Linked DNA regions of Homo sapiens: all the other regions are linked to region 1. Evidence: promoter capture Hi-C in 16 types of primary human blood cells and fetal thymus (Javierre and others, 2016). All regions are on one chromosome and are shown on one strand. Each heading gives the region's core, a stretch centred on a gene start or on the middle of the fragment in contact. The rest is flanking DNA. Distances are from core to core; before and after follow the strand shown. Region 1 holds the start of LPAR2 (lysophosphatidic acid receptor 2). Region 2 has its middle 8.0 kb from the start of ZNF14. Region 3 overlaps GATAD2A (GATA zinc finger domain containing 2A).

What was found. Contacts are between HindIII fragments. The CHiCAGO score rates a contact against its expected background, and 5 or more counts as called.
Region 2: a contact is called between a fragment that was not itself captured here and the fragment with the promoter of LPAR2 in region 1, in 1 of 17 cell types (non-activated CD4 T cells). The highest score is 5.1, in non-activated CD4 T cells.
Region 3: a contact is called between a fragment that was not itself captured here and the fragment with the promoter of LPAR2 in region 1, in 6 of 17 cell types (non-activated CD4 T cells, monocytes, activated CD4 T cells and 3 more). The highest score is 6.4, in non-activated CD4 T cells.

Annotation. Positions count from the first base shown.
Region 1 is chr19:19,626,902-19,629,596 of GRCh38, reverse strand. It overlaps LPAR2 (lysophosphatidic acid receptor 2), which reads left to right and starts at 1,377. Exons shown (of 3, transcript NM_001395660.1): 1 at 1,377-1,505; 2 at 2,313-2,695. The coding sequence starts at 2,322. It overlaps GMIP (GEM interacting protein), which reads left to right. Exons shown (of 21, transcript NM_016573.4): 21 at 1-121. RefSeq lists silencers at 627-756, 1,127-1,626 and an enhancer at 67-989. The HindIII fragment of the contact is 41,803 bases long and covers 1-2,695 here.
Region 2 is chr19:19,739,805-19,742,499 of GRCh38, reverse strand. No RefSeq gene overlaps it. Among named protein-coding and RNA genes, the nearest start is that of ZNF14, 8.0 kb to the right of the region's middle. The HindIII fragment of the contact is 6,926 bases long and covers 1-2,695 here.
Region 3 is chr19:19,508,836-19,511,530 of GRCh38, reverse strand. GATAD2A (GATA zinc finger domain containing 2A) reads right to left here. Exons shown (of 12, transcript NM_001384528.1): 12 at 2,599-2,695. Among named protein-coding and RNA genes, the nearest start is that of TSSK6, 5.4 kb to the left of the region's middle. The HindIII fragment of the contact is 3,522 bases long and covers 1-2,695 here.

The DNA of each region.
Region 1 (2,695 bases), core at 128-2,627:
CCCACACCTGCCTGCCTCCTTCACGGACTCGAAGTGACCTTCCTGGAGGAGGTGGGCAGCTCAGACTCCACATGCTGGTGGTGCCTGAGGTCTGATGGCCTCTAATAAACTGTGTCCTATATGCCCTTGGGTGCATCTCTGCTAGGGGAGAGGCCAGCATGGGTAGCACTCCTTGCCCCCATTTTACAGATTAGGGGAATCAAGGCCTCTTTTTTTTTTTTTTTTTTTTTTTTTTTTGAGACGGAGTTTTGCTCTGTCTCCAGGTTGGAGTGCAGTGGCACGATCTCCGCTCACTGCAACCTCCACCTCCCGGGTTCAAGCGATTCTCCTGCCTCAGCCTCCCGAGTAGCTGGGACTACAGGCGCCTGCCACCATGCCCGGCTAATTTTTTTGTATTTTTAGTAGAGACGGGGTTTCAGCATGTTGGCCAGGATGGTCTCGATCTCCTGATCTCGTGATCGTCCCGCATCGGCCTCCCAAAATGCAGGGATTACAGGCGTGAGCCACTGCGCCCGGCCTCAAGGCCTCCTTCTTGCATCATCAAACACCCTGCAGCACCTACGTAAAGGCAGTTGGAGCTGGGTCGCAGCACCCGGCTGAGTCACGCCAGCCCGGCCCTCCCGGAGCTCTGCGTCCCCGATCCGGTCCTGCATAATCAAATACAGTATAACAAAGTACCGATAACCGGGACAATGGGGCTGTGTGCTCCGGACCGTGGGAGCCCGGGGCCGCCGCAGGGAGGCCGAGGGAGGAAGCCACAGGGCAGGGCAGGGCAGGGCCGGGCTTTGCAGGGGGCAGCGCTGTCCCAGGGTGAGGGGTACGGGGGCGGGATTGCAAAACCCTAGCGTGCGCCCGATGATCAGCTGGGGCCGCAGAGGTGGGCCTCGCACAGGAGGCCGCGGCTCGCTGATACTGCGAGCTGGCAAAGCCGAAGCTGGGCGGGGGTCCGGGCGGTGGGAGCCAAGTCGGATCAGGGAGTGGCTTGTAACTCGGCGGCCGATTGGACACGAAGAAGAGAGCGGGGTGGGGCTGGGAGGGTTGGGGGTCCGGAGCGGGGGCGCGGACCCAAGACCACCTGGAGCTCCGCCCGGGCAGCGCGGGGTCACGGCGGGAATTTTCGGGTCGCCGAGTGACTCAGCCCCGCAGGCTCGAAACTGCGGGCGCATGAGGTGTGCAGGTACCGGGGTGGGGGTCCCGCGCCGGAAATAGGGGCGACTGAGGGGCCGCGAGGCGGGGAGGAAACAGGGGGGCTGCGGTTCCGGGCGACACCGCCCCCGACGCGGCCGTGGAGGCGGGGCTCCCCCAGGTGGCGGGGCGGGGCAGGGCTCCCCCAGGTGGTGGGGGCGGGGCGCCGGGGAGACCCCGCCTCCCGCGCCCTCTCAGCAACCCGCACAGGGCGCACCCGGACGCTCTACCGCTCCCGCCGCAGTCGCCGGGCCATGGGCCTCGAGCCCGCCCCGAACCCCCGCGAGCCCGCCTTGTCTGCGGCGTGACTGGAGGCCCAGGTGAGGCCTGCACGGACGGGAGGCGGGCGGGTGCGGGCCTGGGCCCGGGGGAAGGGCGCGGCACGTGCCTGCGGGGCCAGGACGCCGCCCTCTGATCCCTTAACCCCCTACCCCTTCCCCAGTCTGGAGACGCCTGGAGGCCCGGCCATCCATCCCTTCCCCAACCGCTGTCTTTGTCCCGGAGACCGCCAGTGTCCTCCGTCCCACCCGGAACAGCCTATTGCCCCGCCCGCTTGGGAAGCACTCGCGCCCAAATCCCGCCGACTAACTTCTGGGGCCGCCTCTCTGTCCACTCCGATCACCTCCACGCCTCGGCACCGCCCCCTCGCAGGGTTCTAGCAAGTGACCTCACCCTTGTGTGCACACGCTCCCGGGTCTCTGCTCCCTACACTGACTCCGGCACCAAAGTGATCCTCCCTCATCTCTTCCCGCAGCTCACACCCCTTTGTCTTTCCCTAACCCTCCTCTCCCCACAACCCAAACCGGGTCACACATTGGCGGCAGGTGGGCTGGGATTCGACCATAGATGGGTTTTGTTTCACTTCTGGTTCAAAAACCTATTGACTTGGGTGATGTCTTGCACACAGGTCTTATTAGTAGGTAAGAAACAGCTGCTCCTCCACCTCCACCCCAGCCCCATGGAGCTTGCTTTTTCCAGGCCACCGTAGTCCTCACCACTGCCACTTTGCTTCGAGGTATCTGAATTTGAGACCCTTGTCCTTCCTGCGCTGACCCTCCTCTGCAGCTGCCGCCCCTCCCTGTGTCCTTCCAAGAAGTGCCACATGCACTGATCTCTTGTGTCCCCAGATGGTCATCATGGGCCAGTGCTACTACAACGAGACCATCGGCTTCTTCTATAACAACAGTGGCAAAGAGCTCAGCTCCCACTGGCGGCCCAAGGATGTGGTCGTGGTGGCACTGGGGCTGACCGTCAGCGTGCTGGTGCTGCTGACCAATCTGCTGGTCATAGCAGCCATCGCCTCCAACCGCCGCTTCCACCAGCCCATCTACTACCTGCTCGGCAATCTGGCCGCGGCTGACCTCTTCGCGGGCGTGGCCTACCTCTTCCTCATGTTCCACACTGGTCCCCGCACAGCCCGACTTTCACTTGAGGGCTGGTTCCTGCGGCAGGGCTTGCTGGACACAAGCCTCACTGCGTCGGTGGCCACACTGCTGGCCATCGCCGTGGA
Region 2 (2,695 bases), core at 108-2,607, 110 kb before region 1:
AGAGCATGGGCTTGGGCTACACAACAGGGCTGCCCCTCCTGGGCTAGAGGCAGTGCCCTCTGCAGGAGCTGAGAAAGTCCAGTCCTGAGAAAGGACGTGTATGGCCCAGGGTGGGTGACTGGGCCCCAAAAGCAGTCCTCGAGGGAGTGACCACATTACCAGGCCAGGATCCTGAGACCTGCCCAGTGCACTGAGGGTGCACCTGGGGCCTGTCCCACCTGATGTCCCCAAGTGCCCCGCAAGGTCTGATCTCTCAGCCTCCATCTACCTCCCCCGGGGGGTGGGGGCTTGCTTTGAGCTGTCCCCACCTTTCTGGATAGAACTAATGTACTTCTTACATATATTGATTGATGTCTCATGTCTCCTTAAAATGTATAAAAGCAAGCTGTGGGCCAGGCGCAGTGGCTCACGCCTGTAATCCCAGCACTGTGGGAGGCCGAGGCTGGTGGATCACGAGGTCAGGAGATCGAGACCATCCTGGCTAACACATAGAAACTCCATCTCTACTAAAAAGTACAAAAAATTAGCCAGGCGTGGTGGCGGGCGCCTGTAGTCCCAGCTACCTGGGAGGCTGAGGCAGGACAATGGTGTGAACCCGGGAGGTGGAGCTTGCAGTGAGCCGAGATCGCACCACTGCACTCCAGCCTGGGCGACAGAGCGAGATGCCGTCTCAAAAAAAAAAAAAAATTATCTGGGCATGGTGGTGGGTGCCTGTAATCCCAGCCTTTCAGGAGGCTGAGGCATGAGAATTGCTTGAGTCTGGGAGGCAGAGGTTGCAGTGAACTGAGATCGCGCCACTGCACTCCAGCCCGGGTGATAGTGTGAGACGCCGTCTCAAAAAAAAAAAAAAAAAAGCAAGCTGTGTCCCAACCACCTTGGGCACATGTCGTCAGGACTTCCTGAGACCATCACGGGTGCATCCTCAACCTTGGCAAAATAAACTTTCTAAATTAACTGAGACCTGTCACGGATTTTCTGGGTTCACCTCTCAAAGGGTAAAGAGTCATGCAAATTAAGACAAGTGGCACTGGTTCCCTGACCAGGAATCGAACCTGGGCTGAAGTGGTAAAGGCCCAGCATATTAGCCCCTGTACCACAGGGTGGAGTATAAGTTCAATAAGAATCCAAAGCAGGCAGTTTGAGCATTTAAAGGACTTTGACAGGGGAGGAGTTTCTACGCTAGAAAGGAGATTGGCACGAGCTGGGGAGATGTGTCCTGCCTCAGTGAGGCCTTTCTAAAAAAAAAAAAAACCCATCCCTGGGTGGTGAGGGTGGGAACAGAGGACTCACTGCCGAATCCCGAGGTGATCGGTGACTTTGTAGCTGTCAATATCCTCAGGCCCCACGTCTGCAGGTGCCTCTGCTCAGCATCCCTGTGACCCAGAGGGGATTCAGGGTGAGGGGGCCGAGGTGAGGGGTGTGGGGGCATGAAGTTCCCAGCAGCTGGTCCTGGCCCTGCATCCGGAGGGAGCCCAGGACACTCCGACCAGGATACAGCTGGAGATGGGTGGCCTCGCCTCCCTCGAGGGAACAGCCCGACCCGGACCTGCTCACACTTGTCAATGATGTCCCGCTCCTGCGCGGGCAGGGCAGCTGTAATCCTTTTCCATGTCCATCCTGCGAGACAACATTGTCCAAAGGCCACACTGCACCTGGGTGCTACAGAGAACACCCAAACCGCTTCCACCCAACTCTGAGACGCCGCCGGCCAGGTGAACCCCATGCCACCACCGCTCCGGGTGAAAAGGGGCCAGATCTAGGGTCCCCATGCCTGCTGGGGTCTCTGGAGTCCCTGCCCCAGCCAGAGGTGGGCTTCTTCCTGAGGATTTGAGAACAGGGGGACCTGGACACAGAGGCCCATTGTCCCCAAATGCCCTAAATCAGGCACATAAGGGAGGAACGGTGTCCATCTGCTGAGGGTGAGGGGCCTGTGGTGCGCTATTTCAGACACCTGCAGGTAGACTGGGGTCAGGGATCAGAGAGCTCCATATGCTCAGCCTCCTGGGATCACGCAGGGACCATGAAGATGCCCAGTTTCTTACAGGGAACAAGACACCTCGTGACTGCTCCGTTTCACCCCCATCTCCACTCCCTCTGGCCAGTGAAGCCGCTTCAAGAATAACATCAGCCAAACGGGAGGGTGCTTGGTTTGGGGTCAATGCAGCCTCTCTGCTCATGAAGATGTCTCAGGTGAAGGGACAGTGGATCCCAAGTTCTGAGCTGTCAATACAGGAAGGACCCTCGTGTTCCGGGGTCACTGAGAAAGAATGAGAACTCTGATGACTTGGTCCTGGAGAACTCCAGAGGGTCCCTTCCCATGAACATTCGGAACAAAGAAAGGGCGAGGCCCGTAAAGGAACAGAGAAAGGGCCTTGTGCGGAAGAGCCCCAGTTCCCGGTGAAGAGGAGGAACGATCATCACCCTCCAACCAACCCTCCGGGGCGCCATCATTTTCCACAACTGCCCAAGGACAGAGGGCTCCCCACCCCACTCCCAGACAAGAGATCCCATATGTCCAGTGGGTCCCACAGCGACCCCCACTGACTGCACCCAAAGTCTGGGTTGATGAGATCTTCTCTTGCAGGGACCCACCTTAGGACACAGACCTGGATGGAAGACCACCCTCCACCCCACCCACAGGGGCTCTTCCAAGGCCAGGCTCTGTCCTATTGCTGTCAAAAATTTTGGAAAGATT
Region 3 (2,695 bases), core at 73-2,572, 120 kb after region 1:
CTTTGGGAGGCGGATCACTTGAGGTCAGGCGTTTGAGACCAGCCTGGCTAACATGGTAAAACCCCATCTCTACTAAAAATACAAAATTTAGTCGGGCATGGGTGGCTTGCACCTGTAGTCCTAGCTACTGGGGAGCCTGAGTCAGGAGAATCACTTGAACCCGGAAAATGGAGGATGCAGTGAGCCAAGATCCCACCAATGCACTCCAGCCTGGGCAGCAGAGCAAGACTCTGCCTCAAAAGAAAAAATAAATAAATAAAATAAAACCTAGCCCCTAGCCCCTCTGGTTTATTCGAAGGGTGCTGCTCCTGACTGGGGCCATGCCTCAGACTCCCCACTTGGAAAATGGGCAAAACCCCATCCTTGGGGTAGTGGGCATGGCTTCAGAGTGGGCGTAGCTTGAGTACTGGGCCCAGGACCTTCCCTAGACTCCCACTGCACTTAGCTAAAACCCACGCCCTTGCCCCGTCTTCCCACCCAGTCCCACCACATTGCCCTTTTTGTTCTTGACCTGCCATGCTGGCTCCTATCTCCAAGCCTTTGCACACTCCTGGCACTTTTCCCCTCTTCAAGCCTTGCCTAAAATGTCACCCCATGCCCTCCTCTCAAGGTGCTATATGTTTCTGTCTGGATAGCTCCTGCCACATCTCCGGGGCCCAGGGCATAGTGCATGCCATCTGTCCACCGACGAATCTGTGGGAGCAGATGGGGTCAGGGTCTCTGCCTGCCATGTGGCCACAGACCCAAGGCTCAATTCAGAGAGGATGAGATGTCGGGGACAAGATGTCAGGGACGAGGGGAGTGTCCCATTTTCTCAGCTGGAGAGGCTATTTGAGACCATGACCCAGGACCCGCCCCTTGAATCTGCCCCAACTGCACTGACAAGCCTGTGCCCAATCCAGGGAAGCAGAGCCTCACGAGGAACCAAGAGCCAAGCCCAGGAGACAGCACCCCATAGGAATGTTTCTCAGGCCAAGCAAGAAATGCCTGTAGCAAGCCTCTGGCCCCAGCTACACGGTAGGCTGAGGTGGGAGGATCGCCTGAGCCTGGGCAACAGAGAGCCTCTAGGCACTCTAGCTTGGGCAACAGAGAGCCTATCTCAAAAAAAAAAAAAAAAAAAAGTGGCTGGGTGCAGTGGCTCACGCCTGTCATCCCAGTACTTTGGGAGGCTGAGACCGGTGGATCACATCAGGAGTTTGAGACCAGCCTGGCCAACACGTGAAACCCCATCTCTACTGAAAATTAACTGGGCGTGCTGGTGGCGGCACCTGTAATCCCAGCTACTCGGGAGGCTGAGGCAGAAGAATCGCTAGAACCTGGGAGGCGGAGGTTGCAATGAGCCAAGATCGCGCTACTGGACAGGCTGAGGTTCAGTTTCTACCATGTTCTCTACCAGCTCTGTGCCCATAAGACCAGGCACTTGGGAGTTGTGGGGAAGGTATGAGCTCCCAGGCCGGAGGCAAGGATGCTTCAAAGACAAGAAACGGCCAAGCGTGGTGACTCACACCTGTAATCCCAGCACTTTGGGAGGCCAAGGTGAGAGGACTGCTTGAGTCCAGGAGTTCAAGACCAGCCATGGGCAACATGGCAAAAATGTGTCTTTGCAAAAAATACGAAAATTAGCTGGGCATGGTGGTGCATGCCCATAGTCCCAGCTACTGAGGAGTCTGAGATGTGAGGATCACCTGAGCCTAGGGAGGTTGAGGCTGCAGTGAGCTGAGATCAAGCCACTGCATTCCAGCCTGGGCAACAGAGTGAGACCCTGCCTCAAATAAATAGCACCTAGGAAAACAGGGTCATGTTTTATGCACATTAAAATTCAGCAAAATGATCCCAGGTCTCACCTTAAGAATAAAACTTGAAACTATCAACACTTGAAAACATTTTTGCCAGGACGTCGTTCATTTTGGATCCAGGTTGGTGACTCTGTGCTTAGATTGCACATCTGTAATATCACATCCTGCAGCAAAGACACCATCGAGGCCCCCAGCCTGAAAATTGCTCCAGGAAAACCCACCACTCTAGCGTGAAGGCTGATGCAGCAAACACAAGCAAATTCCACTGAGAATTTTTTTTTTTTTTTGAGAAAGTCACGGTCTCTTACCCAGGCTATAGTGCAGTGGCGCAATCTTGGCTCACTGCAACCTCTGCCTCCCGGGTTCATGCGATTCTCCTGCCTCAGCCTCCCAAGTAGCTGGGGTACAGGCACCCACCACCACATCCGGCCAATTTTTGTATTTTTAGTAGAGATGGGGTTTCACCATGTTGGCCAGGCTGGTATCGAACTCCTGACCTCAGGTGATCCACCCACCTCAGCCTCTCAAAGTGCTGGGATTACAAATGTGAGCCACCAAACCCAGCCCCCACTGAGATTCTCATTCCTCTCTCCCAGCCCATGGGGTAAGTTTGCCACAAAGCTCCAGAGGAGAGGGGCCGTGGGGACTCCATCCCCACAGTAAGTGAGGCCCCAGCAGCAGATGCACCCCGCCCTTTGCTTCTCTCATTAACTAAGGGTCATCCTCCATCTCCCTCCAACCTGCCTGGGAAGCTAGGACGAAACAATACAGAGAAGCCAGGGCAGAAGGGACAAAAGAAAAGTCCAGTTGACACATCATCCATTTATTATCCTTCAGAGTCTAAAACTTCCTCGTGATACAACGTATAGCCACCCATTCCAGCCTGCTTATTGGAACTT